Linked DNA regions of Homo sapiens: region 2 is linked to region 1. The links are contacts of gene promoters, found by promoter capture Hi-C in human tissues and cell types (Jung and others, 2019). All regions are on one chromosome and are shown on one strand. Each heading gives the region's core, a stretch centred on a gene start or on the middle of the fragment in contact. The rest is flanking DNA. Distances are from core to core; before and after follow the strand shown. Region 1 holds the start of CDC14A (cell division cycle 14A). Region 2 overlaps DBT (dihydrolipoamide branched chain transacylase E2).

Region 1 (6,112 bases), core at 1,315-3,814:
CCGGCTAAGTTTTGTATTTTTTTTTTTTTGAAACATAGTTTTGCTCGTCACCCAGGCTGTAGCACAATGATGCGATCTTGGCTCACTGCAACCTCCGCCTCCCAGGTTCAAGCCATTCTTCTGCCTCAGCCTCCCTAGTAGCTGGGATTACAGGTGTGTGCCACCATTCCTGGCTAATTTTTTTGTATTATTAGTAGAGTTGGGGGTTTCACCATGTTGGCCAGGCTGGTCTCGAACTCCTGCCCTCAGGTGATCCACCTGCCTCGGCCTCCCCAAGTGCTGGGATTACAGGCATGAGCCACCGCGCCCAGACAAGTTTTGTATTTTTTTAAGTAGAGGCAAGGTTTCGCCATGTTGGCCAGGATGGTCTTGAACTCCTGACCTCAGGTGATCCGCAGGCCTTGGCCTCCCAAAGTGCTGTAATTACAGGTGTGAGCCACCATGACCAGCCCCATGCAATATTTTAAAAAACATTAATTACTTACAGAGTTTTATTATCTTTGTAAAAATGCTAAGGAAAAATAAACATTTTCATTTGAATTTAAGGACTTGTATTTGTTAGGTCATAATTCATTCCTCATGATCACAATTTTAAGCAGGAGAGTTATATAAAAGATTTTTGTAAATTCATTTTGGAAAATAACAAGAAGGTGTTCAACTATATCTGGCTTCTCTGAAAGTGTAGATTGGAGTTCATTAGACTATTTACTTTGTGCAATTAAAAGTTTATGAACTGAATGAGAACTCTGACTTCTATTTCTAACGCACTTTTTAATGAAAAATTGTTGGGGAATTTGAATTTAGATTATGCAAGAATTTTAAATCAGCATCTTCGGAAATACAACAACATCTTTGGATTTATTTAGCCTTTTAAACAAAGTGGGCAAGTTTATCGAGAGATTCATATACTTTGTTTTTCCCTATCTTTCATATAAGAAATACTAGATTTTTTTTCAATAAAATAATTTGAGGCCTGGCGCGGTGGCTCAGCCTGTAATCCCAGCGCTGTGGCAGGCCAAGGCAGGGCGGATTGCTTGTGCTCAGGAACTGGAGACGAGCCTGGCCAACATGGCAAAACCCGGTCTCTACAAAAAATACAAAAATTAGCCGGGTGTGGTGGCGCACGCCTGTAGATCCAACTATTTGGGAGAATGAGGCACGAGAATCGCTTGTACTCGGGAGGTGGAGATTGCAGTGAGCAGAGATTGAGCCACCGCACTCCGGCCTGGGTGACAGAGCGAGACCCTGTCTAAAACAAAACACACATTAAAAAAAAAAAAACCACAAACAAAACCTGCAATTGGCCCTCGAAGGGCTGGTTCCCTCAGTCAGCTCTGCACGGGTGCGCCCCCTTTCTCCCTAGAGGTCAACAAGCGACTGCGAAGGAAAACGCCGCCACAAGTTTCTTGCTGTTTCTGGAGAGACCTCTCAGAGCGCATGCTCTTCGGATAGTCGGTCTGTAGCGCCATTTTCGTATGGAAGGGACTGCACTCTGATTAGGTACAGCCTTAGGACGCCCAGCGTTCAAGTTGTTCAAACAGTACGTAGAGCCTCGCAGAGACAAGTCAATGGCCTCTTTTAGCGGGACTCCTGCCTGGAGCGCTTCAGCTGAGACTATGTAAAGAAATTCCTTTGTGTTAACCTTCCTCCTTGGACCAGTGGACTCTCCTCTCTCTCCTGTTCCCTCCGCGCCCGCCCAGGCTGGCTCAGCGGTCTCGCCCCGCCCCTCCGGGACCGGAGCACTGTAAAGATTAGGCATCTGTGATGCTTTTGCGCTCACATTGGCGGCCCAGATGAGAGGGCGTGGAGAACCAGATGGGAAACTTTTTGTCCCGTGAGAACAAAGTACAAGTTATATCAGAGTCTGGTATGTGTAGAGGAAACCAATACATGTACTGTGAGCTAGGAGCTGGTGCTTCTTTTTCAATTGTATTTTTTATAAAGATGCAGACCCCCTCAGTGTTGGGCGTGGGGGGTGGCTGAAATGTTAGCTAGAGGCGAGGCAGGGCACGGAGATCTGAGGTTTTTACGAGTGTGTGTGTGTGTGTGTGTGTGTGTGTGTGCGCGCGCGCGCGCCCTACAAGAGTTTAGAAGAGCATGGGTGAGTGGGCGAGAAAGAAAGAGAATGAGAGAGAGAGAGAAAAGAAATCTGGAGTGGGACAAGACTTAGAGGGTGCAGAAAAGAAAGGGGGCGCCAGCACATCCTAGCCTCCGAGGCCGCGACAGCGCCTTTGGCGATGTCCACTCTCAACCCCGCCGTTTCATTCATAAGTTTCTGGCCTACAGGCCCCGCCCGCTCCCCTGGGCCGAGGGCCCCGTTTCCTGAACAGCAATTGGTGGACGGCAACAAAGCCTTAGCAACCGGCTCCTAGTGACCCGCGGGGCGCCTGGTAACTGGGGCTGCTGCGGAGAAAGGAGCGGGGCTGTCCCTTTAAGGGATGGCCGCGGAGTCGTGAAAGTGGAGGGGGCTGAGGGAGGGCGGGGAGGAAGGTCTGGGGGCGGACCCAGGGGGAGGAGGAGGAGGAAGAGTAACTGCTGAAAGGAGGTGGCGAAGGAGGATCCGGAGCAGCTGCTGCCAGCCCGCGGGCACTGAAGTCCTCCCGGCTGCCGCTCGAGTAGCCACGGGCGCGATCGGGACCAGAAGTCTCCTCCTCCATGATCACTTTGGAAGCCGGGGGAAGACTTTGCCCTGCCCTGAGAGCTGGTCTGCGTTTCCCAGGCGCGGCGGCGGCGGAGCAGCAGCTGCAGCAGCCGAGTCCAAATAGGAGCGGCCACAGCCAGGGGCGTGAGCGCCCCGCGCGGAGCGAGCTCGGGTTCCCCTCGGAATGTCCCCGGGGCGCCCGGCGCGCTGACCCCGAAGCCGCCTCCGCCTTCGGCGCCTGCTGCCTCCCTCGGCCAGGCTTGTTGTTCGGGACTGTGAGCTTCCTGGCTCCTGGGCAGTGGGGAAGCCCCCGGGGGCGAGTGACTTCAGCTGGCCACGACCCAGCCCTCCCCCGTGCGTATCTCGCTTAAGATGGCAGCGGAGTCAGGGGAACTAATCGGGGCTTGTGAGTTCATGAAAGGTGAGGAGCAGCCGCCCCGCATCTTCCAACGCTTTCTTGCCCCCAACTCTTCACTTCCCGCGCCACTGTCCCCACCTTCTCCTGAGGCTGCCAGTGTCCTGCAGCCGCTGCGCGCGCTCTCGTCCCCTCTAGGGACTCTCCTTTCTCCGAGGACCCCCTGCTTCCGGCTTCTCTTTCTTGTGTCCCTTGCTCCCTCTGCAGCTCCCTCGGATGGCCTCTCGGCCTCGTAATGGGACAGCACCGGCTTCTGCCCGTACTCCGGCACTCAGCAGCTCATGGGGAGCCTGCTCCGGATGCTCACCGGTCACCTTTACTCCACCATCGCAGGCTTCGGTTTTCGGGACACCCCCAACCACACCCCCCAAGTCTCTCTCCCTTCCTCTTTTTCAAATCTCCGAAGCTGCGTCGGGAGGCTCACCTCTTTCTTCCCCTTCTCGCAGCTGCTGAGGTCTGGAGATTTGGGAACCAAACTTGCACCTCCAGTTCTGCGGGTACCCCCAGCTCCTGCCTACTCTGCTGGCCTGAAACAAGGGAAATGTGGGTGCTCTGAGCCCCGCTGAGTTCCTCGGTCAGGTCCTCCTCTTGCCTAACTGTTGTGCTCTTGAGTCTCTAGCTTTCTGGGAGGGATGAGGTTTCTGCAAGAATTCCACGTGTTAATGGGGTCTTTAAATTGTGATCCTTCGTATGTTACCACCCACCTTCACTTCCACTTCTCTACTTCTCATATGTTTTTTCTGTCTTTTAAACTTGTCTTTCAGATCGGTTATATTTTGCTACTTTAAGGAATAGACCAAAAAGCACAGTAAATACCCACTATTTCTCCATCGATGAGGAGCTGGTCTATGAAAAGTAAGTTTATGTTTTGTTTTTTTTTCTCTTGGCCATTCAGCTTGTTCTTTGACGAGGAAACACTATGCACTTTTATGGCAGTTTTATTCATTTCCCCCCCAATGATACGAGTAACAATATCAATTTTTTAAGACTCAGGTGCCTGGGGAGAAGTTCAGAGAAAATTGACAGAATTTGAACCTTTCAACACTTCAGTTCTTTTAGACATCTATCTGTTTTAGTTCTTCCTACCACCACAACAAACAGCAACTGGAGATTCCTAACATTCCCCAGAGTAGGACCAGGGAGACACACTGTCATTGCCAGACTCAGTAATTGGCCTGTGAATCAGTCACTAAGTATTTATGGAGTGGCCATAGGGTACAGGGCAGTGCATGTATTACAGGTGCTTGAGCTTTATAGTTTACAAGACTTCTGTTCTATCTCAGGATGTTTTTGTTTGTGCAGCTCTTTTTCAGAAAGTGGGACACATTAACTGCGGGGAGCTGTATCAGAGTCACATTTATGACTAACATTTTATCTGACATATTATTGATTCTTTTATTTGGGTACCCCAAACTTTTTGATATTATTTTCTTTGCTTCTAAGGAAATGATATAGCAGTGCTGATTTATTTTCTTTGATTACTTTGCTTCTGTGGGATTAGGATTTGAGAGTGTAAAATAAAAGTAGGGAACTGTTTTCTGTGAAAGACCACTGATCTACAGGAAAAAGATATCTTAATACTTCAGGCATAGTAAAACATTAATTGAAGAGAGATAAATCTTTATTCAGTAAAAGTATCAGATAATAAGAAATAAGAAGGCTGAATTGACTTGGTTATGTACTTTTATGAAAAGAGCTGGTGTTTCAGAGGAGTCTAATATATTCTATTTTAAACGTTTAAATTACTTGTTATCTTTACCAAATGTGCAGATAAATGAACATAGTTAAATTAATCATAATTAGCTTCCTTGGACTTGTCTTGTTAGAAAGGTTATTGGCAGTTCTGCCTAAGGATTTGTGGGTACTACCAGGTCTTCGAAGAGTAAGTGTTCTGGACCTTCAAGAGCATATCTTTTATTTGGGGGAAAACAATCTTTGTCACTTCATCATAGAGGTTCTTGAAACTGAGGTCTGCGACATTTCTCTTAGTGGTGCTGGGAGGAGAATGCTTCTTGAATGGCTAAAGTAAGAGTGGGAATGAAAGAGCCCTTTGCTGCTGCTCATGAATGCCCAGAGTTGCTGAGGCAAAGAGGTCTGAGTCCCTGGTGTCAGATTACAGCTCTGCTTCTAGACAGGATGGAGTTATGTGCGGCTGTGTACCTGGATGATGTCACTGCCAGCAGTGTTTATTGAGTGTTCACTCTGTTGTTGGGAATGTGCATTGTTGTGCCTCTGTTTTTGTGATTTTAGGTTTTGGGGGTCTCTCATGAGTCTGAGAGTGGGGATGGTGTATATATCATTATGTTCAATTCTACAGTACAGTGGTTGTTAATATGTCATTGAATGAGCTCTAGCCATGGAGATCTGAGTCACTTCTCTTGGGATTGCTAGGTGGTAGATCTAGCAGAAAATTAAGCCAAACTAAACACTGTGCATGATGGCTTTTTGATTTTAATATTGATAGATGAGGGAAATTTTTAATGTGATTTTCATGTTGGTATTTTGGGATAGGCCTACAAATCATATTCCTCTTATAGTCTACTGTTTTTCTGGTATCTTATAAGGAAAGACTTGCTGGAGAATCCATCCAATTTATATTGTGAGTTGGGATTGACATTTGAAATACGATGAGGACTTCAGCCTGGGCAGAGTGTGTACTTTTCTTAGTTTGAACTTACCCTACTGTGCCACAGTAATGGCTGTGGCTCTGACACCTCCAACTCCATCTTTTTTGTTACCCCAACATATTACATGGTGCTAGGTGATGCAGAGAATAAAACAATGTTGAATGCATATGTTACCTTCAAAGAGCTCCAAGCCTGTAGGGAAAATAACAGAACTGCAGTTTGAGGTATAGGAAAGATACCTGCCCAAAGAGAAATACAACCTCTATGCTAGGAGAGGCATTCACAGGCAGGTAGGGGCACATCTGGTGGAAGCGTTCAGCAAAGGCTTCGTGGAAGAGTTAAGATTGGCTTGAAGGATGGACAAGGTCTTATCAGGCAGAGACATGAGAGGAGGGATCTTGGAAAACAGCAAGTGTGAGGAGGGGAGAG
Region 2 (6,112 bases), core at 2,983-5,482, 150 kb before region 1:
TCAAGCACAAAACTGGGAGGCCGTTTGGGCAGACACCAAGCTAGCTGCAGTTTTGTTTTTTTTTTCATACCCCAGTGATGCCTGGAACACCAGTAAGACAGAACTGTGAGAGACACTCCCCTGGAAAGGAGGCTGAAGCCAAGGAGCCAAGTGGTCTTGCTCAGTGGATTCCAACCCCACGGAGCCCAGCAAGCTAAGATCCACTGGCTTGAAATTCTCGCTGCCAGCACAGCAGTCTGAAGTCGACCTGGGATGCTGGAGGTTGGTGGGGGGAGGGGTGTCAGCCATTACTGAGGCTTGAGTAGGCGGTCTTCCCCTCACAGTGTAAATAAAGCCACAGGGAAGTTCGAACTGGGCAGAGCCCACTGCAGCTCAGCAAAGCCACTGTATCCGGACTGCCTCTCTAGATTCCTCCTCTCTGGGCAGGCATCTCTGAAAGAAAGGCAGCAGCACCAGTCAGGGGCTTATAGATAAAACTCCCATCTCCCTGGGACAGAGCACCTGGGGGAAGGGGTGGCTGTGGGCGCAGCTTCAGCAGAATTAAACCTTCCTGCCTGCCGACTCTGAAAAGAGCAGTGGATCTCCCAGCATAGCGCTTGAGCTCTGCTAAGGGACAGACTGCCTCCTCAAGTGGGTCTCTGACCCCCATGCCTCCTGACGGGGAGACACCTCCCAGCAGGGAATGACAGACACCTCATACAGGAGAGCTCTCGCTGGCATCTGGCAGGTGCCCCTCTGGGATGAAGCTTCCAGAGGAAGAAGCAGGCAGCAATCTTTGCTGTTCTACAGCCTCCACTGGTGATACCCAGGCAAACAGGGTCTGGAATGGACCCCCAGCAAACTCCAGCAGACCTGCAGAAGAGGGGCCTGACTGTTAGAAGAAAAACTAACAAACAGAAAGGAATAGTATCAACATCAACAAAAAGGACGACCATGCAAAAACTCCATCCAAAGGTCACCAACAGCAAAGATCAAAGGTAGATAAATCCATAAAGATGAGGAAAAACCAGCATAAAAAGGCTGAAAATGCCAAAAACCAGGACGCCTCTTCTCCTCCAAAGGATCACAACTCCTCGCCAGCAAGGGAACAAAACTGGACAGAGAATGAGTTTGATGAACTGACACAAGTAGGCTTCAGGTAATAACAAACTCCTCCGAGCTAAAGGAGCATGTTCTAACCCAATGCAAGGAAGCTAGGAACCTTGATAAAAGGTTAGAGGAATTGCTAACTAGAATAACCAGTTTAGAGAAGAACATAAATGACCTGATGGAGGTGAAAAACACAGCATGAGAACTTCGTGAAGCATACACAAGTATCAATAGCTGAATCGATCAAGCGGAAGAAAGGATATCAGAGATTGAAGATCAACTTTATGAAATAAAGCATGAAGACAAGATTAGAGAAAAAAGAATGAGAAGGAAGGAACAAAGCCTCAAGAAATATGAGACTATGTGAAAAAGACCAAAACTACGTTTGATTGGTGTACCTGAAAATGACAGGGAGAATGGAAACAAGTTGGAAAACACACTTCAGGATACTATTCAGGAAAACTTCCCCGAACTAGCAAGATAGGCCAACATTCAAATTCAGGAAATACAGAAAACACCACAAAGATACTCCTCGAGAAGAGCAACCCCAAGATCCATAATTGTCAGATTCACCAAGGTTGAAATGAAGGAAAAAAATGTTAAGGGCAACCAGAGACAAAGGTCGGGTTACCCACAAAGGGAAGCCCATCAGACTAACAGTGGATCTCTCGGCAGAAACTCTACAAGCCAGAAGAGTGTGGGGGCCAATATTGAACACTCTTAAAGAAAAGAATTTTCACCCCAGAATTTCATATCCAGCTAAACTAAGCTTCATAAGTGGAGGAGAAATAAAATCCTTTAGAGACAAGCAAATGCTGACAGATTTTGTCACCACCAGGCCTGCCCTACAAGAGCTCCTGAAGGAAGCACTAAACATGGAAAGGAACAACTGGTAGCAGCCACTGCAAAAGCAACCCAAAATGTAAAGACCATCGACACTATGAAGAAACTGCATCAACTAACAGGCAAAATAACCAGCTGTCATCATAATGACAGGATCAAATTTGCATATAACAATATTAACTTCAAATGTAAATGGGCTAAATGCCTCAATTAAAAGACACAGATTGGCAAACTGGATAAAGAGTCAAGACCCATCAATGTGCTGTATTCAGGAGACCCATCTCATGTGCAAAGACACACATAGGCTCAAAATACAGGGATGGAGGAAGATTTACCAAGCAAGTGGAAAGCAAAAAAAAAGAAAAAGCAGGGGTTGCAATCCTAGTCTCTGATAAAACAGACTTTAAACCAACAAAGATAAAAAAAAGACAAGGGCATTACATAATGGTAAAGGGATCAATGCAACAAGAATAGCTAACTATCCTAAATATATATGCACCCAATACAGGAGCATCCAGATTCATAAAGCAAGTTCTTAGAGACTGGCAAAGAGACTTAGATTTCCACACAATAATAATGGGAGACTTTAACACCCCACTGTCAACATTAGACAGAACATTAGACATTAGACAGAACAATGAGACAGAAGATTAACAAGCATCTTCAGGACTTGAACTCAGCTCTGGACCAAGCGGACCTAATAGACATCGACAGAACTCTCCACCCCAAATCAACAGAATATACATTCTTCTCAGCACCACATAGCACTAATTCTAAAATCGTACACACAATTGGAAGTAAAACTCTCCTCAGCAAATGCAAAAGAATGGAAACAATAACAAGCAGTCTCTCAGACCACAGTGCAATCAAATTAGAACTCAGGGTTAAGAAACTCACTCAAAACCACACAACTACATGGAAACTAAATAACTTGCTCTTGAATGACTGCTGGGTAAATAATGAAATGAAGGCAGAAATAAAGATGTTCTTTGAAACCAATGAGAACAAAGACACAACGTACCAGAATCTCTGGAACACAGCTAAAGTATGTGTAGAGGGAAATTTATAGCACTATAAATTTCCCACAGAAATAAATGCCAACAGAAGAAAGCAGGAAAGATCTAAAATCAACACCCTAACATCACAGTTAAAAGAACTAGAGAAGCAAGAGCAAACACGTTCAAAAGCTAGCAGAAGACAAGAAATAAACAAGATCAGAGCAGAACTGAAGGAGACAGAGACACAAAAAAACCCTTCAAAAAAATCAATGAATCCAGGAGCCGGTTTTTTGAAAAGATTAACAAAATTGATGGACTGCTAGCTGGACTAATAAAGAAGAAAAGAGAGAAGAATCAAATAGACACAATAAAAAATGATAAAGGGGATATCACCACTGATCTCACAGAAATACAAACTACCATCAGAGAATCCTATAAACACCTCTTCACATATAAACTAGAAAATCTAGAAGAAATGGATAAATTGCTGGACGCATACACCCTCCCAAGACTAAATCAGGAAAAAGTCGACTCCCTGAATAGACCAATAACAAGTTCTGAAACTGAGGTAGTAATTAATAGCCTACCAACCAAACAAAGCCCAGGACCAGATAGATTAACAGCCAAATTCTACCAGAGGTACAAAGAGGAGCTGGTACCATTCCTTCTGAAACTATTCCAAACAACAGAAAAAAAGGGAATCCTCCCTAACTCATTTTATGAGGCCAGCATCATCCTGATACCAAAACCTGGCAGAGACACACACACAAAAAGAAAATTTCAGGCCAATATCCCTGATGAACATCAATGCCAAAATCCTCAATAAAACACTGGCAAACCGAATCCAGCAGCATATTACAAAGCTTATCCATCACAATCAAGTCGGCTTCATCCCTAGGATGCAAGGCTGGTTCAACATGTGCAAATCAATAAACATAATCCATCACATGAACAGAACCAATGACAAAAACCACATGATTATCTCAATTGATGCAGAAAAGGCCTTGGATAAAATTTAACACCCCTTCATGCTAAAAACACTCAATAAATTAGGTATTGATGGAACATATCTCAAAATAATAAGAGCTATTTATGATAAACCCACAGCCAATATTATACTGAATGGGCAAAAGCTGGAAGCATTCCCTCTGAAAACTGGCACAAGACAAGGATGCCCTCTCTCTCACCACTCCTATTCAACATAGTATTGGAAGTTCTGGCCAGGGCAATCAGACAAGAGAAAGAAATAAAGCATATTCTATAGGAAGAGAGGAAGTCAAATTATCTCTGTCTGCAGATGACATGATTGTATATTTAGAAAACCCCATCGGCTCAGCCCAAAATCTCCTTAAGCTGATAAGCAACTTCAGCAAAGTCTCAGGATACAAAATCAATGTGCAAAAATCACAAGCATTCCTATACACCAATAACAGACAAACAGAGAGCCAAATCATGAGGAAACTCCCATTCACAATTGCTATAAAGAGAATAAAATACCTAGGAATCCAACTTACAAGGGATGTGAGGGACCTCTTCAAGGAGAATTACAAACCACTGCTCAAGGAAATACAAGGGGACACAAACAAATGGAAAAACATTCCATGCTCATGGATAGGAAGAATCAATATTGTGAAAATGGCCAAACTGCCCAAAGTAATTTATAGATTCAATGCTATTCCCATCAAGCTACCATTGACTTTCTTCACAGAATTAGAAAAAACTACTTTAAATTTTATATGGAACCAAAAAAAAAGCCCACATAGCCAAGATAATCCTAAACAAAAAGAAGGAAGCTGGAGGCATCATGCTACCTGACCTCAAACTATACTACAAGGCTACAGTAACCAAAACAGCATGGTAATGGTACCAAAACAGAGAGATAGACCAATGGAACCGCACAGGGGCCTCAGAAATAACACCACACATCTACAACCCATCTGATCTTTGACAAACCTGACAAAAACAAGCAATGCGGAAAGGATTCCCTATTTAATAAATGGTGTTGGGACAACTGGCTAGCCATATGCAGAAAACTGAAACTGGACCCCTTCCTTACACCTTATACAAAAATTAACTCAAGATGGATTAAAGACTGAAATGTAAGACCTAAAACCATAAAAACCCTAGAAGAAAACCTAGGCAATACCATTTAGGACATAGGCATAGGCAAAGACTTCATGACTAAATCACCAAAAGCAATTGCAACAAAGCCAAAATTGACAAATCAGATGTAATGAAACTAAAGAGCTTCTGCACAGCAAAAGAAACTATCATCAGAGAGAACAGGCAACCTACAGAATGGGAGAACATTTTTGCAATCTATCTATCTGACAAAGGGCTAATATCCAGAATCTACATGGAACTTAAACAAATTTACAAGAAAAAAACAAACAACCCATCATAAAGTGGGCGAAGGATATGAACAGACACTTTTCAAAAGAAGACATTTATATGGCCAACAAACATATGAAAAAAAGCCCATGATCACTGGTCATTAGAGAAATGCAAATCAAAACTACAATGAGATACCATGCCAGTTACAATGGCAATCATTAAAAAGGCAGGAAATAACAGATGCTGGAGAGAATATAGAGAGATAGAAACGCTTTTACACTGTTGGTGGGAGTGTAAATGAGTTCAACCATTGTGGAAGACAGTGTGGCGATTCCTCAAGGATCTAGAACCAGAAATACCATTTGACCCAGCAATCCCATTACTGAGTATATACCCAAAGGATTATAAATCATGCTACTATAAAGACACATGCACATGTATGTTTATTGCAGCACTATTCACAATAGCAAAGACTTGGAACCAACCCAAATGTCCATCAATGTTAGTTAGACTGGATAAAGAAAATGTGGCACATATACACCATGGAATACTATGCAGCCATAAAAAAGAGTGAGTTCATGTCCTTTGCAGGGTCATGGATGAAGCTGGAAACCAGAAAACCAAACACTGCATGTTCTCACTCATAAGTGGGAGTTGAAAAATGAGAACACATGGACAGAGGGTGGGGAACACCATACACTGGGGACCTGTCGTGGGGTCTGGGGCTAGGGGAGGAATATCACTAGAAGAAATACCTAATGTAGATGACGGGTTGATGGGTGCAGCAAACCACCATGGCAGGTGTATACTCATGTAACAAACCTGCACATTCTGCACATGTATCCCAG

Evidence for each region. The method cuts DNA at HindIII sites, captures the fragments that hold promoters and counts their contacts. A contact is called where the count stands out against the background at its distance.
Region 2: a fragment that was not itself captured here is called in contact with the fragment with the promoter of CDC14A in region 1 in 1 of the 25 tissues and cell types used here (aorta).

The regions. Positions count from the first base shown.
Region 1 is chr1:100,349,942-100,356,053 of GRCh38, forward strand. CDC14A (cell division cycle 14A) reads left to right here and starts at 2,565. Exons shown (of 16, transcript NM_003672.4): 1 at 2,565-3,062; 2 at 3,821-3,911. The coding sequence starts at 3,014. RefSeq lists enhancers at 1,322-1,751, 1,792-1,841, 3,092-3,401, 3,442-3,691 and silencers at 2,342-2,431, 2,462-2,511. The HindIII fragment of the contact is 17,975 bases long and covers 1-4,656 here.
Region 2 is chr1:100,199,950-100,206,061 of GRCh38, forward strand. All of the region lies in intron 10 of DBT (dihydrolipoamide branched chain transacylase E2), which reads right to left. Among named protein-coding and RNA genes, the nearest start is that of LRRC39, 25 kb to the left of the region's middle. RefSeq lists an enhancer at 148-985. The HindIII fragment of the contact is 5,861 bases long and covers 1,303-6,112 here.